Linked DNA regions of Homo sapiens: all the other regions are linked to region 2. The links are contacts of gene promoters, found by promoter capture Hi-C in human tissues and cell types (Jung and others, 2019). All regions are on one chromosome and are shown on one strand. Each heading gives the region's core, a stretch centred on a gene start or on the middle of the fragment in contact. The rest is flanking DNA. Distances are from core to core; before and after follow the strand shown. Region 1 has its middle 25 kb from the start of MIR548AL. Region 2 holds the start of CHRDL2 (chordin like 2). Region 3 has its middle 7.9 kb from the start of KCNE3.

Region 1 (3,357 bases), core at 578-3,077, 310 kb after region 2:
TTGCATGTCTTGTAATTTTTTGTTGAAAACTGAGCGTTTGCAGCTGGGTGTGGTGGCTCATGCCTATAATCCCAGCACTTTGGCAGGCCGAGGGAGGTTGGTTACTTGAGACCAGGAATTCAAGACCAGCCTGGTCAACATGGCAAAACCTCATTTCTACAAAAAATACAAAAATTAGCTGGGTATGGTGGCACATGCCTGTACTCCCAGCTGCTCAGGAGGCTGAGGCATGAGAATTGCTTGAATCTGGGAGGCAGAGGTTGCAGTGAGCTGAGATGGCACCACTGCACTCTAGCCGGGATGACAAAGCAAGACTCTGACTCAAAAAAACAAAACAAAACAAAACAAAAAACCCACACACAAAACTGAGCATTTAAATAATATAATGTGATTAATGTGGTAACTCTGGAAGTCAGATATTCCCCCTTCCCCAAGTTTGCTGTTGTTAATTGTTGAGGACTGTAGCCATCCATTTATTTAATGATGCTTTCAAACTGTTTTTGGAAAGAGTGTATTCCTTGTCATGTGCAGTTACCAAAGCCTCTGTTCCATTATCTCAGTGCTTAGTGAAGTGACCTAACAAAGATTTCCTTAAGTACTCAGAGCCAAAAAGAGAAAAAAATACTACTCTTCTGGTCTTTGCATCTTGGTTGTGAGTGGGGACATTTTTTTCACCCCTACACCAGGCCACCTACAGGTCTGCCTTTGCCTTTACTTCCTGTATGCATGGAGCCCACAGATCTTCCAGAGGTGCCAAGCCTATGATCCTCTAAGGCCTTTTCTTTTCTTTTCTTCTTTTTTTTTTTTTTTTTTAGACAAAGTCTTGCTCTTGTCGCCCAGGCTGGAGTGCAATGATGTGATCTCAGCTCACTGCAACCTCCACCTCCCGGGTTCAAGCCATTCTACTGCCTCAGCCTCCCAAGTAGCTGGGATTAGAGGTGCCCGCCACCATGCCTGGCTGTGCAAGCACATGGTCCTGGGAATGCATGGTCATCCCAGCATTTTGGGAGGCCGAGACAGGCAGATCACCTGTGGTCAGGAGTTCGAGACCCGCCTAGCCAAAATGGCAAAACCCTGTCTCTACTAAAAATACAAAAAATTAGCTGGGCGTGGTCACGCATGCCTATAGTCCCAGCTACTGAGGAGGTTGAGGCACAAGAATCACTTGAACCCGGGAAGCGCAGGTTGCAGACAGCCGAGATTGCGCCACCGCACTCCAGCCTGGGCGACAGAGCAAGACACTGTCTCAAAAAAAAAAAAAAAAAAAAGCCATAGTGCTCTCTTACCAAAAGTCAACTGCCCTTTTCCTTATTAAGCATTCCCCTGGTTCCTGTAAGTTTTGGATATTTCAGGGTCCCAAAAAGTTGATTCTGTCAGTCTTTGATAGCTTATGTTTGTTTCAGTGGAAGCACCAATTCTTTGAGCACCCTACTGTGCCATTTTCTATAATGTCACCTAATGATGCTGTCTTGATACTATTTTCCTTCTCTCCCCAGGCCTGAATCGTTGGTCTGTAGTTTTGATCCATCTCTCCTCACTGCTTGGGAACCCATCCAGAGCCCTGTCTGCTCAGCCTGCACCTACCCAGTACCTTCAGGTTCCCAGCAGCTGCACATGGTGAATTCTTATCATGAAATATTATACATAATTTTAAATAAATGAATGAGAGCTACATTATCAACATAAAGATATCCCATAAATGTAATTTTGACTGAGACAAGCAAGTTACAAAAAGAGCATAAAGTATAAAATTATTTGTGTAATTTAAAAATACACAAAACCAGCCAGGCGTGGTGGCTCACACCTGTAATCCCAGCACTTTGGGGGGCCAAGGCAGGTGGATCACAAGGTCAGGAGTTCCGGTCCAGCCTGGTCAACATGGTGAAACCCCGTCTCTACTAGAAAAATATATAAATTACCCAGGCATGGTGGCACGCGCCTGTAGTCCCAGCTATTCAGGAGGCTGAGGCTGAAGAATTGCTTGAACTCGGGAGGCCAAGGTTGCAGTGAGCCGAGATCATGCCACTGCACTCCAGCCTGGGTGACAGAGCGAGACTCTGTCTCAAAAAAAAAAAAGCACAAAACCATAGATACATACCAAAATACTGATAATACTTCTCTGGGTGAAAGGACCACATAAAGTTTTTATTTTCTTTATTTTGCTTATATTGTTTATTTTCTATATGTTTTAGTTGTGCATTGCTGCTGTAACAAATTACCATGAACTCAATAACTTAACCCAATACAAATTTATTATCTTATGCCTGGAGGTCAGAAGTTCAAAATGGGTCTCATAGAGTCAAAATCAAGGTGTCAGGAGGGATGAAGTCCTTCTGAAGGATCCAGGGGAGAATCCATTTCCTTGCTTTTTCCGAGTTCTAGAGGCTTCCTGATTTCCTTGGCTCATGGGCCCTTCTTCTCTCTCTAAAGCCAGCAATGATAGGTTCTCATAGCACATGACTCTGGCCCTGCTCCCATCATTATATTTCATTCTCTGATCTCTTCTTCCTCCTTCTTCTGCTGTTAATGACCCTTGTGATTACACTGGTGCCACTTGGATGATCTAGGATAATGCTCCTTATCTGAAGATCCTAAACTTGATCACATCTGCAAAGTCCCTTTTGGCATGTAAGGGAACATATTCACAGGCTCCAGGAATTAGGATATGGACATCTTTGGAAGGCCATTATTCTACCTGATACATTATAATAAATATGATATGCTTGAAAGAAGGAAAAAAACATGAGTTCAAAGGCTTCTTAAAACTACCTGCATAATGTGCTTGGATTTGCGCCAAAGCCAATGATCTTATGAAAATCCTCTAATCATCATCGTCCAACTTTACATTTTATAGGCCCAAAATAAAGAACAAGTAATAAACAAAAATCTACACAAAGGTTGTATATTCACCCTGCAGATAAAAGACTGATGCACCTGTTCCAACATTATTCATTTTTCCTGCATATAAGTTTGTATCATAACAGTATAAAAATATTATGTCAAAGGGCTTTTAACTCATCTTCACTGACTATAAAAGAAATGCAAATCGAGATGACCATTTTTTACAATGTTGGAGAGAATGTAGGGTAAGAGGCACTCTCACAGTTGGTAGGAATATAAGCACAGCTCCTAGGGAGAGCAATTTGACAGTATCTGTCAAAACTTAAAATGCACATACCCCTTGTCAGCATTAACTCTATTTCTAGGGGTTTTTCCTGTAGATACTCTCACATGTTCCCAAAAATATAGATACAAGAATATCTAAGGTCCCATTGTTATAATGGTAAAATATTGGAAGCAGTAAAAACGTCCATCTGTAGGAGAGTGGTTAAATAAATTGTGTATGTTCTGAGGTTA
Region 2 (3,366 bases), core at 713-3,212:
AACCCCATCTCTACTAAAAATACAAAAATTATAGGTGGTGCATGCCTGTAATCCCAGCTACTCGGGAGGCTGAGGCAGAAGAATCGCTTGAACCCAGAGGCAGAGGTTGCAGTGAGCCCAGATCACGCCACTGCACTCCAGCCTGGGCGACAAGCGCAAAACTCCATCTCAAAAAAAAAAAAAAAAGGAATGAAGTTGGCCTCAACTCTGGGGATAATAGGGATGGACAGGAGGGCTGAGATGGTGGAGGCCTTTTTTGAAGTATGATGGGCAGGATGTAGGGGAACCCATCTTAATCCACTTCTTACATCTAAGACATGAATATATGTGCACAGCACATTTTAAACAAAGAGAAAGGAAAAGATCACTGTCCCAAACCCTTGGGATGAGATTGTTTATGCAATTAAGCAGCACAGGATTTAACTCTGAGATCCCTGGAAGCAAAGGCAAAAAGGGAAGCATGGTGACATGCATAAGCTTGCACTATCTGTTAAAATAAAGAATACTCAGGGGAAAGGAAGAGACTGGCCAGATTAGAGTAGAAATTAAGCCTGAAGGGCACTGGACAGATCATGTTTGTCCCTGATCCTGAGAGCCCTAGGAAGGGCCAGTTTGGGGATCACTGGTTCCTCCTACTGCTCTCTTTTGGAGGGTGGAGATCTTGGGGGTAATACCCTGAAAGCACAGTGCAATGGGGAGCCCAGCCTTGGCCCAGAAAGATACCTTTACAGCCAGCCAGCCAAGTGTTTAAACCCGGAAATATGATTCCCTACCAGAGTGGGATATGGCTCAACATCCCTTCCCACCTCATACTCCTCTGGCACTCTTTGGAGTCTCCATTAGCTCTTCAAGAGAAGCTGGGCAGAAAGTTGAGGTCCAAAGCAAGGATAGATGTATTTACTCAAAGTGGCCCAACAAGTTACGGATGGAGCCAGGACAGTGACTCTGCCCTTTTGATTTCAGAGCTTGTGTGTTTCTGGTCTGGCCAGAGCTGGCTATTCTCTTCTTAGTGTCCTATTAGTGCATGTGTTCATTCAACACAAGAGATGGAGCACCATTTGAGGGCTGGAGGGTGTCAGGGCCCTGTCCTCAGGGAGCTCCCCTTCTGGTGGGAAAGAAAACTCTTTGACAATCAGCTCTCCCTAAAGATGACTGAAGGTGACCATCACTCCCAGAGAAGTGCAGGCCTCACCTGCAAAGGCAAAGGAGAGATCTTGCCTTGATTCGGGAGTGGGAGCGGGGAGCAGAGGAAGACCTCCAGGGGAAGGCACAGGATCCCTATGGGCTGACTTTCCTGAGAATGGCGCATGGGCAGACGGAGTGGGGACAGGGGCCACTGGTATTGTAGGCACCTGGAATTAGGACCCCTTCTCTTTGTGGGGTGAGTGTTTCGACGTTCATTACCTTATTTCATCTTAGCAACACTCGTGGGAAGATAGTAGAGATATTTTAAGATCTTAAAATGCCCATTTTAAAGCTGGGAAAACAGACTCTCCGGTGGCGTGCTGTAGACCACAAACTGAATTAAGAACGCCAGTGTTCTGATTCCATCCATCTGCGGAGTTCCGGGCACGCACCGCCGAGCGCCTTACCCTGAGCCTTCCCGGTACCCGCAGCCCCGACAGCTCAGCCTTCCCCACCTGAAAGTTCCACCTGAGGTCTCCCTCAACTCTGCCCTCCTGCATTCTTGGCGTCGCGGGGAGTCAGGGGTTAAACCCCGTGGCCCGCGTGGCCCCTTCCCCCTCCGCAGCCCCCTCGCCTCCACTCGGCGCCGCGCCTGGAGCGTCCGTCCCGGAGACCCGCACAAGAGAGGAGGGGAAAAAGTGGGCCTGTTTCTCGGGTGGCCAATCCACCGAGCCCGCGGTGCCCCAGAGGAGGCGCCAGCGCTAGGCCAGCGCCAGGCCGGGCTGCCTGCTTCCCGCGGCAAAGTACAAATGCGCCCGAGCGCGGCGCCTGAAGCCCTTGGCGAGCACAGCCGGCCCGCGCTCAGCCTCCCTCCGCGGCCGCCGCGCCGCCGCCGCTGCTGGGACCGCCGCCCCGCCGGGCCCCAGGCCCCCGCGGCCCGACCCCGAGCCCACCGAGCAGGGGGCGCCGGCCGCCTCTAGCCCGCGCGCCCGCAACACCCGCTGGTCCCGCGCGCCTCGCCCGGCGCTGCGCGCTCGGCAGACGCCGGTCCTCTCCCTGCTTTCTCCTCCTCTCCCTCTCACCTTCCCCCTTTCTTTGATCGCCTCTCCCTTCTGCTGGACCTTCCTTCGTCTCTCCATCTCTCCCTCCTTTCCCCGCGTTCTCTTTCCACCTTTCTCTTCTTCCCACCTTAGACCTCCCTTCCTGCCCTCCTTTCCTGCCCACCGCTGCTTCCTGGCCCTTCTCCGACCCCGCTCTAGCAGCAGACCTCCTGGGGTCTGTGGGTTGATCTGTGGCCCCTGTGCCTCCGTGTCCTTTTCGTCTCCCTTCCTCCCGACTCCGCTCCCGGACCAGCGGCCTGACCCTGGGGAAAGGATGGTTCCCGAGGTGAGGGTCCTCTCCTCCTTGCTGGGACTCGCGCTGCTCTGGTTCCCCCTGGACTCCCACGCTCGAGCCCGTAAGTAGACCGGGAGGCTGGGTGGGCAGAGGAGGGATGCGGCCCCTGGAATGTGAGGGACAGCGCCAGGACCTGGACCCCAAGCTCTTCTGACAGCCGTCCAGGCAGCACCTGTGCCGGAGGGGTGGAGACTCCGTGAGGACCAGTATGGGCCGGGGGACCGGAGGAACTCGGCACAACTCAGAACTGAGAGAGGGCTGCTGCCAGGGACCTGAGGAGGGGCACCAAGGGCAGCGGGGGGAGAGGGCAGGGCACTGTGTTTTGGGTTGGGGGAGGACTTACTGTTCCTAGGAGGGAGTCGGGTATGTCTGGCTACAGGTAAGGAGTGTGATGGAGAAGAAAAGGCTTTTTGCCTTTGGAAAGAGCCATTGGACAGAAATGAGAGGTAATTAGGATAACCTTCCCATTCTTTTCTCTCTTTTGATCCTCGCAACTCTCCAGTGAGGTGGGTATTATCATTCGCACTTTACAGATGAGAAAACTTAGGCTGAGCAAGGAGGAACTTGCTAAAACTTACAGAGCGGGTAAGCCATCCAAAGCCAGAACTCTAGTTCCAGATCCCATGCTTTATTCCCTGCCTCACATTGTCTAGAAGGAACCCTGAATTTGCAGTGTGAGACTCTGGGAGGCGGCAGGGCACAGTGAGATAGACCAGCGTCTTCACCATCCCAGCCCCGCTGAATGCCAGCTGCTGGGAGGCCGTCACAGAGTGCACCTCTCTGACCCTGGGTTTCCTAATCTATAAAGCGGAAGTAAAAATCCTAGGAGAGTTGATAGGATTAAAT
Region 3 (3,159 bases), core at 382-2,881, 260 kb after region 2:
TATATATCCAGTCTGTTAAGTGGTTGTCCCAGCCCTGCTCACACACCTCCAGACACAGAACACTTACTGCCTCCTGAGGCAGCCTTCCATTCTTGCACAGTTCTGATTGTTAGAAAGTTACTCCTCAAAGCTAAAATGTGCCACCAACATTGTCATAATTCTGCCCCCCTGCACTAAGAGGACTTCCCTGGCCATGCCCTACATCCCTTTCTAGTGGTACTGACCACACTCTATTATAGTTCCTTGTTTCCATGCCCGATCCCAACCAGACTGTGAGCTCCCCAGGCAGGGACTATAGCTGTGTCATCCATGGCCTTTTCAGCCCCCAGTCCCGGGCCTCCCACAGAGGAGGCACCCAGAAACAGTCTGTGGAATCAGAGAATGGATTGTCTCAGAAGTGGTCTCTACTTCAAGTTAAACATTCCTTATTCTTATGTTCTTCATGGCTTCCAGACCCCACACCACTGCCCTCATCTCCATAGGCTCCAATTGGCTAATGTGCCCTTAATCTATGCAGCTTGAAGATAACATGTATGGTATGGTCTGGCCAGGTTCCAGCCTGTGCTGGACCCTGAGGACAGAGATGGATCCAACTTGGTCCATCTTCAAGGAGCTCACCGCCTTGTAGAGAAGACACACCTGTAAACAAACACATGCAGTAAAGTGTTATACACACTGAGAGAAGCTTGCATAGGGAACTGTGGGGAAATAAAAGAAGTACTAAGTCTTAAAAGGGAGGATGAGGGCAGAAAAGGCTCAAAGTGACACTGAATTAGTGAGGACTTTGGGTTGTAGGTAACAGGAAACCCAGCTCAAACTAGCTCAAGTGAAAAGAGAATATTTTAGATCTCATAACTGAAAAGTCTGTGGATAGACTTCAGGCACAGATTGATCCAGGGACTCAAACAATGGCATCAGGACTTGGTTTTTCTTCCTCTATTCCTTAGCTCTGCTGACCTCAGAATTGGCTTCACTCTCTCCTGTGTGGTGCCAAAGATGGCTGTTGGTCACACCACACTTAGATTCTATAGCTTAGCCACCCTTACTTCCGTATACATTCAGCCTAAGGCCCAGGAAGGATTCTGGATAAATCATCACTCCAAGGAGCGTCATGACCCTCTTGGAACAAACAGATGGGGCTTAGCCCCACCTGAACCATATGGGCTGAGAGCAAGAGAGGGAAGGGTGACTCCCCAAAAGGAAGAGAGAGGTTCTATTCCCAAAAGAAGGAATTCTGGGAAGGCCAAGACATCAGATGTCCACTATGGCTTCAGAAGATAAGAATTGTGGGATAGATAAGAAGACATGGTGTGTTCCAGGCAGAATAAGAAGCATGAGAGTCTCTGAAGTGTGAAGCTAATCTGGGGAACTCAAGTGCCTATCTTGCCCCAGACTATAGCAGGTGTTTTAGGTGCTCCATGTATATTTGCCTGGCCCTTCCATTTCAGTGCCATTTCAAATATCTGTTAGAAACAGTCATTTCAGGCTGGGCACAGTGGCACAATCCTGTAATATCAGCACTTTGGGAGGCCGAGGCAGGAGGATCACTTGAGCTCAGGAGTTTGAGACCAGCCTGGGCAACGTAGTAAAAGCCTGTCTTTACAAAAAATGCAAAAATTAGCCGGGCATGGTGGCGTACACTTGTAGTCCCAGCTACTTGGGAAGCTGAGGCAAAAAGATTGCTTGAGTCCAGGAAGTGAAGGCTGCAATGAGCCAAGATCATCACCACTGCACTCCAGCCTGGAGCCTGGGTGACAGAGTGAGACCCTGTCTTAAAAAAAAAAAAAGAAGAAGAAGAAGAAGAGAAATAGACATTTCAGTGTCTATTTCCACCTGCCAGCATCTGTACCTTTTTTCTCAGGACTTTTGGAGGGACCGGGGCTGTCAACCCATGTGTCAGGCTGGACATGCTGGAGAATTCATATCCCCCGAGCAGCCCTCAGCCAATGACTGACTCCCCTAGCCCCCTTGCCTCTAATGAGGGGTAACTCTGGATGTGTGTTCTACCCAGGCCTCTAGGGTTCCCTAGCAGGGCTAAGCTTGCTAAGGGTACACCTTATGAAAGGCTCCATTCACTCCTGTGTTACTTCACCACTCTTCTAATTGTGTTTCCTGGGATCACGTCACACATGAACCACTTGTACTCAAATCCATGTCCCAGGGCCTGCTTCTGGGAGAATCCAAGATAGCCCCAAACACATTCTTCTAAAAACAAAGCTTAAGTCAGTGTCAACACTTTTTGTTTTTGTTTTGTTTTGCTGCCACACTATCCTATTTACTTAGGTGGGATAACAAATATGCATAACATCTGAGGTACAGCCCCTCCTTCCAGGAGCTCCTGGTCTGAGGGGAAGGCAATAATAAGCATTTCATGGTTTTCAAAGTGCCTTCTCAGCTGTGAGTCCATTTGCTCCTTGGAACACTGCAAGGTTTGCAGGACCAAGATTGTTGTTGTGCAAGTGAGGAACACAGAGGCTCAAAGTGGGGCAGTGACTTGGCCCAGGTCCCAGGGCCGATGATCCTTGGCTGACCCCTTTCTTGGCTTGTGCCTGTGTCAGCACCATCCAGGTGGTCTCTTATCACTAAGAAGAATTAGGGAATCCCTCCTTCTCTGTAGGTTCAGCCAGACCTCCAGTAAAGACACCCACATCTGTTGCTTGTTTTCTAAACATTGATGACTTTGGAGGTAGAAGATTAGAAGCACCAAAAACCAAACAGCATTCTGATCCCCCCAGGGGCTGCTTCGTCTATTGCTCCCTCTTGGACTAGGGGCTCTCCCAGTGAGAGCAACATTTTCCATGCAGTCAGGGCCATTCTTCCCATATCAGACTGTACCCTGCCCAAGAACAGGGACTTACACAAGGATGATACATATGAAAAAGGGGAGATACGTGGGATGGGAGCAGTCAGGGGACACAGACAAAGGCATCTAATTTAGGGCAGGGGAGATTTCCGGGAGGAAGTAGCATCTAAGGGTGAGTTAGCCGGCCCCAGGAGGAAGTATGTTCCAGGCAGAGAGAACAGCATAGGCAAAGGCCTGAAGATGACAGAGAGTATGTGGATATTTGAGGAACTGAGATTGTCCCCTCCTGCTCCTTTCTGGGGTGAAAACCCAAGCTCGCATCCTCCACCCACATTCCTTAGTTCTTCTACTCCTTC

What was found. The method cuts DNA at HindIII sites, captures the fragments that hold promoters and counts their contacts. A contact is called where the count stands out against the background at its distance.
Region 1: a contact is called between a fragment that was not itself captured here and the fragment with the promoter of CHRDL2 in region 2, in 1 of the 25 tissues and cell types used here (IMR-90 fibroblasts).
Region 3: a contact is called between a fragment that was not itself captured here and the fragment with the promoter of CHRDL2 in region 2, in 1 of the 25 tissues and cell types used here (hippocampus).

What each region holds. Positions count from the first base shown.
Region 1 is chr11:74,422,458-74,425,814 of GRCh38, reverse strand. No RefSeq gene overlaps it. Among named protein-coding and RNA genes, the nearest start is that of MIR548AL, 25 kb to the right of the region's middle. The HindIII fragment of the contact is 6,614 bases long and covers 1-3,357 here.
Region 2 is chr11:74,730,022-74,733,387 of GRCh38, reverse strand. It overlaps CHRDL2 (chordin like 2), which reads left to right and starts at 1,962. Exons shown (of 11, transcript NM_001278473.3): 1 at 1,962-2,581. The coding sequence starts at 2,500. The HindIII fragment of the contact is 7,141 bases long and covers 1-3,366 here.
Region 3 is chr11:74,473,836-74,476,994 of GRCh38, reverse strand. No RefSeq gene overlaps it. Among named protein-coding and RNA genes, the nearest start is that of KCNE3, 7.9 kb to the right of the region's middle. The HindIII fragment of the contact is 4,261 bases long and covers 1-3,159 here.